Linked DNA regions of Homo sapiens: region 1 is linked to region 2. The links are contacts of gene promoters, found by promoter capture Hi-C in human tissues and cell types (Jung and others, 2019). All regions are on one chromosome and are shown on one strand. Each heading gives the region's core, a stretch centred on a gene start or on the middle of the fragment in contact. The rest is flanking DNA. Distances are from core to core; before and after follow the strand shown. Region 1 overlaps PXDNL (peroxidasin like). Region 2 holds the start of PXDNL (peroxidasin like).

Region 1 (6,009 bases), core at 7-2,506, 180 kb before region 2:
GAACTATGATTGCATTACTGCCTGGGCAACAGAATGAGACCCTATCTCAATCAATCAATCAATCAATAAAGTATTTAAAAAATAAAAATATTTACACCACGATGCAGTTATAGAATAAACATTTTTTCAAGTACTTATGGAACGTTTAAGATGGACCACATATCAAACCATAAGTAAGTCCAAAGTATTAATAAGCTTTAATAGATTGAAATAATACAAAATATCTTCCCTAACCAAATAGAATGAATTTAGAAATCAGTAACAGAAGTAAAACTGGAAAATTCATAAATATGTGGCAATTAAACTATATACCCTTTTGTTTTTTGTTTTGTTTTGTTTTCTGTAATTTTAGATTTTCTGTTATTTTAGATTCAGGGGGTACATGTGTAGGTTTGTTACATGGGTATACTGGGTGATGCTGAGTTTTGGAGTATAAATGATCCTGTCATACAGATAGTGATCGCATTACACAATATGTAGCTTTTCAGTCCTTGCACCCTTCCCTCTCTCACCATTCTAATACCCCCCGTGTCAATTTGTTCCCATATTTATGTCCATATGTACCCAATGTTTAGCTCACACTTACAAGTGAGAACACATGGTATTTGGTTTTTCTGTTTCTGCATTAATGTGCTTAGGATAATGAGCTCCAGCTGCATCCACGTTACTGCAAAGGACATGATTTCATTCTCTTTTGTGGATGCATAGTAGTCCATGGTGTATGTGTACCACATTTTCTGTATCCAATCCACTGTTGATAGGCACCTAGGTTGATTCTGTCTTTGTTATCGTGAGAGTGCTATAATGAACATATGAATGCATGTGTCTTTTTGGTAGTACAGTTGTTTTTCCTTTGGGTATATACCCTGCAATGAGATTGCTGGGTCGAATGGTAGTTTAAGTTCTTTGAGAAATCTCCAACCTGCTTTCCACAGAGACTGAACTAATTTACATTCCCACCAACAGCATATATGTGTTCTCCTTTCTCTGCAGCCTTACCAGCATCTGTTGTTTTTTAACTTCTTAATAATAGCCATTATCTGCAGTGAGCTATGGTCATGTCACTGCATTCTAGCCTGTGTGACAGAGCAAGACCCCATCTCTAAAAAGAAGAAGAAGAATAGCCATTCTGACAGGTGTGAAATAGTGTTTTACTGTGGTTTCAATTTGCATTTCTCAGATGATTAGTGACGTGGAGCATTTTTTCATATGTTTGTTGGCCGCTTGTATGTCTTTCTTTGAGAAGTGTCTGTTCATGTTCTTTGTTCACTTTTTGATGGGGTTATGTGTTTTTGGCTTCTTTAATTGTTTAAGTTCCTTATACATTCTGAATACTAGACTGTTATTGGATGCACAGTTTGTAAATATTTCCTTCTATCCTATAGCCTATTTATTCTGTTGATAGTTTCTTTTGTTATGGAGGAGCTCTATAGTTTAATCAGGTCCTGCTTGTCAATTTTTGTTTTTGTTGCAATTGCTTTTGAGGACTTAGTCATAAATTATTTCCCAAGTCCAGCATCCAGAATGGTATTTCCTAGGTTTTCTAGGATTTTTAGAGTTTGTGATCTTATATCTGTATCTTTAGTGCAATTTGAGCTAATTTTTTTATACAGTGAAATGTAGGGATCCAGTATCCTTCTTCTGCATATGGCTAGCCAGTTATCGCAGCACCATTTATTGAATAGGGAGTCTTTTCCCCATTGTTTATTTTTGTTGTTGGCTTTTTCAAAGATCAGTTGGCTGTAGGTGTGAAGCTTTCTTTCTGGGTTCTCTATTCTGTTCCATTGGTTTATATGTCTGTTTTTGAATCAGTACCATGCTGTTTTGGTTACTATAGCCTCATAATATAGTTTGAAGTTGGGTTATGTGATGCCTCTGGCTTTGCTCTTTTTGCTTAAGACTTCTTTGGCTATTTGGCTGTCATTTGGTTCCGTATTAATTTTAGAATAGTTTTTTACAATTCTGTGAAAAATGACATCCGTAGTTTGATAGGAACAGTGCTGAATCTGTAGATTCTTTGGGCAGTGTGGCCATTTTAATAATGTTTATTCTTCCAATCCATGAGCATGGACTGTTTTTCCATTTGTTTGTGACATCTATGATTTCTTTCAGCAGTGTTTTGTACTTTTCCTTATAGAGCTCTTTCACCTCTTTGGTTAGATGTATTCCTACATATTTTATTTTTTTGTGGCTATTGAAAATGGGATTGCACTCTTGATATGGCTCCCGGTTTGAACATTATTAGTGTATAGAAATGATATTGATTTCTGTACATTGACTTTGTACTGTGAAACCTTACTGAAGTCACTTATCAGTTCTGGGAGCCTTTTGGTGGAATCTTTAGGGTTTTGTAGGTACAGAATCATATTGTCAGTGAAGACAGATAATTTGACTTCTTCTTTTCCTATTTGGAAGTCTTTTATTTCTTTCTCTAGTCTGATTTCTCTGAATAGGACTTTCAGTACTATGTTGAATAGGGGTGGTGAGAGTAGGTATCCTGTCTTCTTCTAGTTTTTAAGGGGAATGCTTCCAGCTTTTGCCCATCCAGTATGATGTCAGATGACAACACACTCTTTAAATGACAAGTGGGTCAGAGAAGAAATCATGAGGGAAATTTAAAAATACTTAGGACAAACGAAAACAAAAATACTATATACCAAAACTTACGGGATGCAGTGAAAGCAGTGCTGAGAGAGAAATTTATAACTGTAAAGGCCTACATTTTCAAAAAGTAGAAGATCTCAAATGGATAACCTAACTTTACATCTGAAGGAGTTAGAAACAGAAAAGCAAGCTAAATGCAAAGCAACCAGAAGGAAGAAAATTAAGATTAGAGTGGAGATAAATGAAACAGAGAAGAGAAAAACAATAAATAGAGTCAATGAAACCAAAAGTTGGTTCTTTGAAAAGATCAATACAATTTTAAAAACTTTAGCTAGGCTAACCATGAAAGCAAGAAAAATAAAAAGTGAAGACAATACTACTGACTTTATTAAAAGAGATAAATAAAATATGAGAGTACTATTAAAATTGTACACCAACAAATTAGATAACCTAAATAAAATAGAGAAATTATTAGAAATAGACAAATTACAAAAACTGTCTCAAAAAAAGCAGAAAATCTGAGTGGGGGGCGAAGTACTTTTTAAGAGATTGAATCAATAATCAAAAACCTCACAACAAAGAAAACCTCAAGACCAGATAGTTTCACTCGTAAATTTTATCAAATATTTAAAGAATTAATACCACCTCTTCTCAAAATTTTCCAAAAAAATAGAAGAGGAAAGAACGCTTCTTAACTCACTCTATGAGTTTAGTATTAGCCTGCTACTAAACACAGACAAGACACCACAAGAGAAGAAAATACAGAGCAATATCTTTTAGTAATAGTGATGCAAAAATTGTTCAACAAAATACTGGAAAATTGAATAAAAAACATAACATAAACATTATTCACCAGGATCAAGTAGATTTAACCTAAGAATGCAAGGATAGTTTAACATAAGAAAGTCAACCAATGTTATGCACCACATTAATGGAATGATGGAGGAGAAAACACAATCCTATCAAATGATACGTAAAAAGTATTTGACAAAATTCAACACCCTTTTATAATCAACAAAGAATACTCAAAAAACAAGTAATAGCAGGAAATTTCTGAACATAATAAAGGACATTTATTAAAAATCCAGATAACATTATACTTAATGGTGAAAGAAACCTTCCCCCTAAGATCAAGAACATGACAAAGATGCCTATTTTCATCACTACTATTTAACGCTATATTGGAAGTTCTAGCCAGAGCAGTTAGGCAATAAAAAGAAATACAGGCATCCAAACTGGAAAATAAGAAGTAAAACTATCTCTATTCACAGATGGCATAATGTGTATCTAGAAAATCTCAAAGATTTCAGAAAATAACTACTATAGATAATAAATCAATTTATCACACTTGCAGGTACAAAGTCAACATGCAAAAATCTGCTGTGTTCTGTACATAAGCAATAAATAATCTGAAAAGAAAATTAAGAAAACAATTATACTTATCATCAAAAAGAATAAAATGTCTAGAAATAAATTTAATCAAAGTAAACATTTATACATTAAAAACTACAAACATTGCTAAAAGAATAAGGAAGACCTAAATAAATGAAAAAGGATTTCATGTTTATGAATTGGAAAGCTTAAGATGTTGAGATTACAACTACCAAAGTGATACACAGATGTAATACAATCCTTATAAAATTTCCAATGACTTTTTTTTTTTTTCTGCAGAAGTAGAAAACCTGTCCTGAGTAGTGGTTCTCCCAGCATGGAGTGTGAGATCTGAGAATGGACAGACTGCCTCCTCAAGTGGGTCCCTGACCCCAGAGTAGCCTAACTGGGAGGTAACCCCCAGTAGGGGCAGACTGACACCTCACACGGCTGGGTACCCCTCTGAGATGAAGCTTCCAGAGGAACGATCAGGTAGCAACATTTGCTGCTCAGCAACATTCACTGCTCTGCAGCCTCCACTGCTAATTCCCAGGCAAACAGGGTCTGGAGTGGACCTCCAGGAAACTCCAACAGACCTGCAGCTGAGGGTCCTGACTATTAGAAGGAAAACTAACAAACAGAAAGGACATCCACACCAAAACCCCATCTGTATGTTACCATCATCAAAGACCAAAGGTAGATAAAACCATAAAACCACAAAGATGGGGAAAAAAACAGAGCAGAAAAGCTGAAAAGTCTAAAAATCAGAGTGCCTCTCCCCCTACAAATGAACGCAGCTCCTCACCAGCAATGGAACAAAGCAGGACAGAGAATGACTTTGACGAGTTGAAAGAAGAAGGCTTCAGACGATCAAACTTACCTGAGATAAAGGACTAAGTTCGAACCCATCGCAAAGAAGCCAAAAACCTTGAAAAAAGATTAGACGAATGGCTAACTAGAATAAACAGTGTAGAGAAGTCCTTAAATGACCTGATGGAGCTGAAAACCATTGCACAAGAACTACATAATGAATGCACAAGCTTCAGTAGCCGATTCTATCAACCGGAAGAAAGGGTATCAGTGATGGAAGACCAAATGAATGAAATGAAGTGAAAAGAGAAGTTTAGAGAAAAAAGAGTAAAAAGAAATGAACAAAGCCTCCAAGAAATATGGGACTATGTGAAAAGACCAAATCTACATCTGATTGGTCTACCTGAAAGTGACAGGGAGAATGGAACCAAGTTAGAAAACACTCTTCAGGATATTATCCAGGAGAACTTCCCCAACATAGCAAGGCAGGCCAACATTCAAATTCAGGAAATACAGAGAACGCCACAAAGATACTCCTCAAGAAGAGCAACTCCAAGACATATAATTGTCAGATTCACCAAAGTTGAAATGAAGGAAAAAATGTTAAGGGCAGCCAGAGAGAAAGGTCGGGTTACCCACAAGGGGAAGCCCATCAGACTAACGGCAGATCTGTCAGCAGAAACTCTACAAGCCAGAAGAGACTGGCGGCGAATATTCAACATTCTTAAAGAAAAGAATTTTCAACCCAGAATTTCATATCCAGCCAAACTAGCTTCATAACTGAAGGATAAATAAAATACTTTACAGACAAACAAATGCTGAGAGATTTTGTCACCACCAGGCCTGCCCTAAAAGAGCTCCTGAAGGAAGCACTAAACATGGAAAGGAACAACCGGTACCAGCCACTGCAAAAACATGCCAAATTGTAAAGACCATCGAGGCTAGGAAGAAACTGCATCAACTAACGACCAAAATAACCAGCTAACATCATAATGACAGGATCAAATTCACACATAACAATATTAACCTTCAATGTAAATGGGCTAAATGCTCCAATTAAAAGACACAGACTGGCAAATTGGATAAAGAGTCAAGACCCATCAGTGTGCTGTATTCAGGAGACCCATCTCACGTGCAGAGACACACATAGGCTCAAAATAAAGGAATGGAGGAAGATCTACCAAGCAAATAGAAAACGAAAAAAGGCAGGGGTTGCAATCCTAG
Region 2 (6,278 bases), core at 3,672-6,171:
TAAATACAGAAGCAGAATTGGTCCTTCTAACACCAGACTTGTACTGTCATTCAACTTTTCCCATGTGCAGTAGCTCTCCAACTAGCACAGGGACCACAGCTTTGCTGCCTCAGGTTGCGGCTACTCCCCACAAAGCTACTATTCCATAACACATCCCTTCACTTCATTTATAGAATCTACAGTAGGGTTGAAAGGCAGCACTTAGTGTAGGGAACACTGTTCTAATACTTTAATCAGCATATACCATCTAAGTACAGGCTGTTGTAGGATATCCTGGCTCCACTGACCTTCTAAAACAATTTGTCTGTCCATTTGTTTCTTGAAGGATGACTCCCAAGTCTCCAGGGTACATTATACCCCAGCCAGTGGTGCTGGCCTTTACTCCTCTACCTCCTCAAGCTGTCACCTCCACATTGTCCCTATGTCCATTCTCCTGCTTGGGCTCCATCCACACTCACCTGCCCTTCCTTCCAGAACAGCCTCTTCCAGCCCCTCTCCACAGAACCACACTGGCCTGAGTCAGGAGGTCAGTGACAGCCCACTTTCAGTTTCATTTCTCTCCCCAACAAGTCAACCACTGGGGGAAGTTTGAATGTTGACACACTTCATCTGGGTCCCACTGTGCTTCCCCTCAACAATGCCAGGTGGGGGAAGGTCCAAAAAGTTCAGGCCTGTTCATTACTGCCAAGTGGTCATTCAAAGCCAGTAAGTTATGTCGGTTACAAACAAGCTACAAAAAATTTTGTAACAAAGGTAAAAGTAAGCCCTATTAAGTTGTATTTTATATATACATATATATATTTTAAATTATACAATTTTATATATAAAACTTTATATATAATTTAAATTATAAAATTATGTTTGCTGCCTCAGATTGCAGCTACTCCCTATTATTCCATAACACATCATTTTATGTATATATACAAAATGATATATATATTATATATATATAAAATGAATGGAAATTGGAAGAGCTGAAGGAATTCTATTTTCTTCTTGAACAAGGTGAAATTTTTTATCAGCTGGACACACTTTTTCATGACTGAGCATAAGACATTTTCCATTTCCCCACCCCCATCTTGTTCCTCAAGTTTTCTATTATTTGGACAGCAAAGAAAGCTTTCCACATAAAGAAAATGTCTTTAAATTAAATGTTTAGAATTTCACATTGTAAATACTTTTGTATTTATGACTTTTAGGAAAATCCTCGATCATTAAAACAGCCCTAAGCTTAAAACTTTTTCTAATCAAGGTGGTTTTTAGAGCATGTTCAATTTGCAGTCACTGAGTCCATTTCTTAACCAGTAACTAAGGAAATTAGGAAAGTACAACCTAATGACCCTGGAATAGGATGGAGTCAAATCACACTCACCATACACTGCTTCTGATTACTGAACAGGCTCCCTAAAGATGCTGTGTTCATTACTGGACATTTTTTTGTTTGCAAATTCTAATTCTGAAAGATTTGTTTTACTAAAATCCACGGCACAAAGAGTGAGATTTTCTCAATGGCAGCAGGCTTTTTGGTAAATGATATTAGTTTAGAAACACAATATCTTTATAGTCAGAATGAAATTAAAATTTGGAGGGACAGTTTTGCATTTTTCTAAACTTAAAACCCTGATCAACTGTAACCAATCTTAAAAATAATACAGTTTTCTTATCTATGATTTAGGAAAATATTTTCTGCATTCAGGCTAAAATTTTAAAACATGTAAAAATGGAAAAAATTAAGGAAATTTTAACACTACTACTAATAAGCATTTACTAAGCATGTTGGCCATTTGCAGAGCTAAATATATTATTTACATCATTTCCATGTTATAATGACAATAAACATACATAAGGGCGGTTTAACAAAAACTATTGGTTCTGCTGCTGGGGAGAAATTCATTCAGCTTCCATTTGCCTTAGTTTTCAAAAACTAATTGGCTTTTTCCCATAATTGTTATTGTCATCTTTCATGATATTGCTGACATAAAATGCAATCCTACATCAAGGATTTTTAGCCCCAGAGGAGTAGAGGAGCAATTTTTACAGGCTTTACATATACTTCTCAGCTTTTATACCATTTCTCTACTAGAAGTCACAAACTGAAGGTCCTAGGCAAAAAGCAACCTACAAATATGCATGGTTGGGCTTGTATATTTTTGCCTTTCCATTTCTAAAAATGTAATTAGCTGCTAATATTGAAAAGCTAGGGAATGTCACTTTTGGCTTCCATATTTTCTTGAAACTATGGCCCAAATCCCCAAAGGCCATCAATTAGCTAAGTAACTGGCTGCCCCATTAGCAAGAGCTGCCTCTGCCTTCATTACCATCCCCACACACTCCAAGCTTCAGGCTAGTTGCTATTCATCACACAGTAGTCTGCCTTTCATCTACCCCACTTCCCTCAAATTGTTTACTGGCAGGTTCCCAGAGATATTTAGGTTTGTAATTCCTGTCCTGAATTGCAAACATGATACTAATAGTGAAAACTTCCATAGTGTTTACTAGAGCTAAGCAATTTTCTAGGTACTTAAAATGCATTAATTCATTAAATCTTCAAGATAACCAATAGGGTGAAGAGTGCATCAGTCTGTTTTCACACACTGTGATAAAGAAATACCTGAAACTGGGTAATTTACAAAGAAAAGAGGTTTAATTGGTTCATGGTTCTGCAGGCTGTACAAGAAGTACAGCAACTTTTGCTTGGCTTCTGGGGAGGCCTCAGGAAACTTACAATCATCGCAGAAGGCAAAGGGGGAGTGAGAACTTCACATGGCCAGAGCAAGAGGAAGAGAGACGCAAGAAGAGCTATATACTTTTAAACAACCTGATCTTGTGATACCTCACTCTCGCCATGACAACACCAAGGGAGGTGGTGTTAAACCATGAGAATCCGCCCCCACTATCCAATCACCTCCCACTGCACCCCACCTCCAACATTGGGAGTTACAATTGAACATGAGATTTGGGTGGGGACACAGATCCAAACCATATCAAACACTGTTAGCATCTCCATTTTTACAGATTAGGAAACTGTGACACCAAGAAGTTAAGAATTTGTCCAAGGCAACACATTTTGTAAGTGGTGGCACCAGACTCCCAGACAGGAATCTAGCCAAGGGCCTGAGAATCCACCATTAAGCTTTATTTTTAAACATAGTGGAAGGCTCTGCATGACAACACTGACAACATCACTTCAGTTCTGCTCATTACATTTAGAGGTGTGTGTCTAATGCAAGCTAATCTCTTCTTTGAAACACCTAGGAAACAAAATTTAGGTCGAGTTGTACCTCATGTAGCTCCAAGATACTTCATTAGACAAGCAGCCCCTTCTCCAAGGCTTTGCTGCTATCTACCAAAAAACTGTCATTACAAAAGGACAAATGGCTGGTTCTGAGTCTGAAGGCACTTGCAGAACTGTGCTGTCCACATAGCAATAAGCAGTGCTCCCAAGTTCAAGAATCCTTTCAGTTATTACAGTAAGACGTATTTTGATATCTGCATGCATATAAAATTAATGAAATGCTTTATAGAAATGAAAATCTATGGATAATATGTCATTTTCTATGTAAATACCATCAAATTGGACTTTTTATTACCAAGTCCTCATTTCACGATTATGACTGACAAATGTGTGGCAATGATCCTCTTAAACATTTATATCTCAAAATTCCAGGAATTTTAAGCTATTTCCCTCTGCCCAAGAATGGACTTGAAACACTGCAAGCAGTTTTGTCTTCCATGAACATGACACAACCCACAAAATATTTATTATAGAGCAGGAAACCTCTTTAGTCTGCATCTTTCAGCATTTTTCCTTTTCTTCTTTTATTTTTTCTTAAATTTTTGAATTTGTCGTCTTTTTCTTTCTTTAAAAATAGACCCTAGAAACAGATCCTTTTCTTCTTTTGTGGTGATTTGCCCTTCTAATTATCTAATTATGACTTAATTTAATCTAAATAAATCTAAATGTTTGGGTTTATTATCTGAATATTAAAGATGAGAAGATAGGATTTGAACTCAGACCTGTTTGACTTCCAAATTCTGGTTTGCCCTACTATCCCGTAATGCCTCCTAGATGCCGATTAGTCTAAGCGGCTGCTCCACAAGGCTTTTAAGCATTCAAGAACTCTACTGGACCATTTGAGGGTCTGTTCTGGAGACAGACAGTGCTTCAAGTGCTGAGGGCTCAGGACTTCACCCTCCCAGGAGGTACACACAGTACAAAGCCTAACAATTTGTCAGCACATAATCAATTGAAACCACACTCTAAAGTTAAATTAGTTCCTTCCAAATGGGGCAGACACGTGCTGACCAATTAAGAGGCCCAAAGACTTGGGAGTAGAGGATGAATAGGAATAAATTGAGAAAGTATGCAGGAAAATTATTGAAGGAAGAATGAAGACGAGAATTCTCAATGCTAAGTTCTGGAAGATGCTGGAAGAGAACTGAATCCAAAACAAATATATTTATGTCAACTCATCATTGCTTACATTTTCTAGTCTAACAGAGCAGAACCATGAAATTGTTTGAAAAGTGAAAAGCCTCTTCTAAGTATACAAGCAGGGAGAGCATTAGGAATCGTAAATTAAAAGGACACAGGTCCTAGCAGAGAAGCAATGAAGCATTGGGGAAGAGGGTTTCTGGGGAATTTATGTGAACTTACAGAACTGTGGTCTGCTGTGGTACCTGAGGAATGTGGTCCAGCATCAAGTGCATGCAGCGGACGGTGCTCTTAAAGCAAAGGCACCGGCTGGGGCAGGGCAACCCTGGCAGGCACCACCCGGCCAGGAGAAAGAGAGTGGTCCAGCAGAACAGTCTGGGCTCCATCGCTCCATTCGCTGCTGGCCACGCGAAGAAGCAGCCGGAGGGAGAGCAGCAGCTGCAGCTGCAGCAGCAACCGCAGTGGTGGTGATGGTGGCTGCTGGACTGAGCCAAGTTTGGGAGCCGTGGTGGAAAGCAGCTCCCAGGGAAAGGACACCCCTCTGACCAATCCAGGAGGAGGGATATCACATTACAGGGCTGAGGGCACAAGCAGCTCTAGGAAGCACTAGACTCCCAGAGGCGAGGACGAGAAGCTTTTCAATGCAAAAGCCTCTTTCTAAAACACCGTGTTTTAGGCAGCATAATGCAAACAAACTTTTCCAAAATTACTTCCACTGCGCATTTGATGAAAAACCCGACCTCTTAGCCTCCAGCTGTCCTCTTGAAGCCCAAGTTGATTAAGAATGTATTGAAACAATGCAGAACAGCTTTTCTTCTTTTTTATCTGGTAACATTACCAAACCCTAAAGGGCAGGCAGAGTTCTAATTCGTTCATCTAGGTGCACATATTCTTTCTTTATTCCAAACTATGCTCTTTAATAAAAATTGTTTCATTTCCTTCTATATATTCTGCTGCTGAAACCCAACACATTTCACTCATGTAAGACTCAAACGGGCTACTTCTGATTTCTTCTTTTAACGTTTAAATTTATATGCTTAAAACCATGAACTCACATACCTCCTTCAAGAGGATACAACTGATGGACAAACCTAAGTATGTATATGTAAAGTCAAACAGATGCAAGCTCCCTCAGGACACACTGGCAGCAGTGGTCTTGCTGGTTGCAGACTTTTCATCAGCAGTTTGAACTGGCCATCTTTCCCTGAAGTGAGCAGCACCTCGTTGAGGACGTGTCTGAAAACTTAATAAATATGAAAACATCTACTTTTTGGTCATTCTGTAAGCAGGTATTTTTAAACAGATTTTTGGCTTTATCTTTAAAGACTAACATTTTCAAACAAAAATGTTTTAAATCCATAAAAGTAATAGAAAACAAATTAAAACTTGCATGGTCAATCCCAGATGATCAGACTAGTAGACCAATCTTAAGAGGAAAATAAGTTCATCCTTGTCTCTGCAGAAATGTTTCAGTCCCTTTACATTCTACTGTAGGCGAATACTGCCCTCTTTTGGCAAAATGTTCATATCTAAATATGTGATTTTGGGGAGATTAAAATGTAAAAAGATCTAAAAAACAAAACTAATCTCCATGAACAAGAATGATTTATTTTAAACTTTACATTTGACATTGTTCACATGACTTTTATTGTCCAAGTATACCAATAAAGCCAAAAAACGAAATTTATTCCTTTAAATCCCAACAATCACTATGCTCTTGGCAGTGCCTGTGATTTGGAGGACATAGACAAGACCTGCAGGTTTGTGCCTTGTTTGCAGTTCAAAATATAAAATACAAAAAATATAAATAATATAAAATATATAAAATACAAAAATATAAAAA

The links. The method cuts DNA at HindIII sites, captures the fragments that hold promoters and counts their contacts. A contact is called where the count stands out against the background at its distance.
Region 1: a fragment that was not itself captured here is called in contact with the fragment with the promoter of PXDNL in region 2 in 2 of the 25 tissues and cell types used here (H1 embryonic stem cells and mesendoderm cells).

The regions. Positions count from the first base shown.
Region 1 is chr8:51,632,546-51,638,554 of GRCh38, forward strand. All of the region lies in intron 2 of PXDNL (peroxidasin like), which reads right to left. Among named protein-coding and RNA genes, the nearest start is that of PXDNL, 170 kb to the right of the region's middle. The HindIII fragment of the contact is 3,424 bases long and covers 1-2,968 here.
Region 2 is chr8:51,804,524-51,810,801 of GRCh38, forward strand. It overlaps PXDNL (peroxidasin like), which reads right to left and starts at 4,922. Exons shown (of 23, transcript NM_144651.5): 1 at 4,658-4,922. The coding sequence starts at 4,821. RefSeq lists enhancers at 4,295-4,817, 4,818-5,339. The HindIII fragment of the contact is 3,040 bases long and covers 2,736-5,775 here.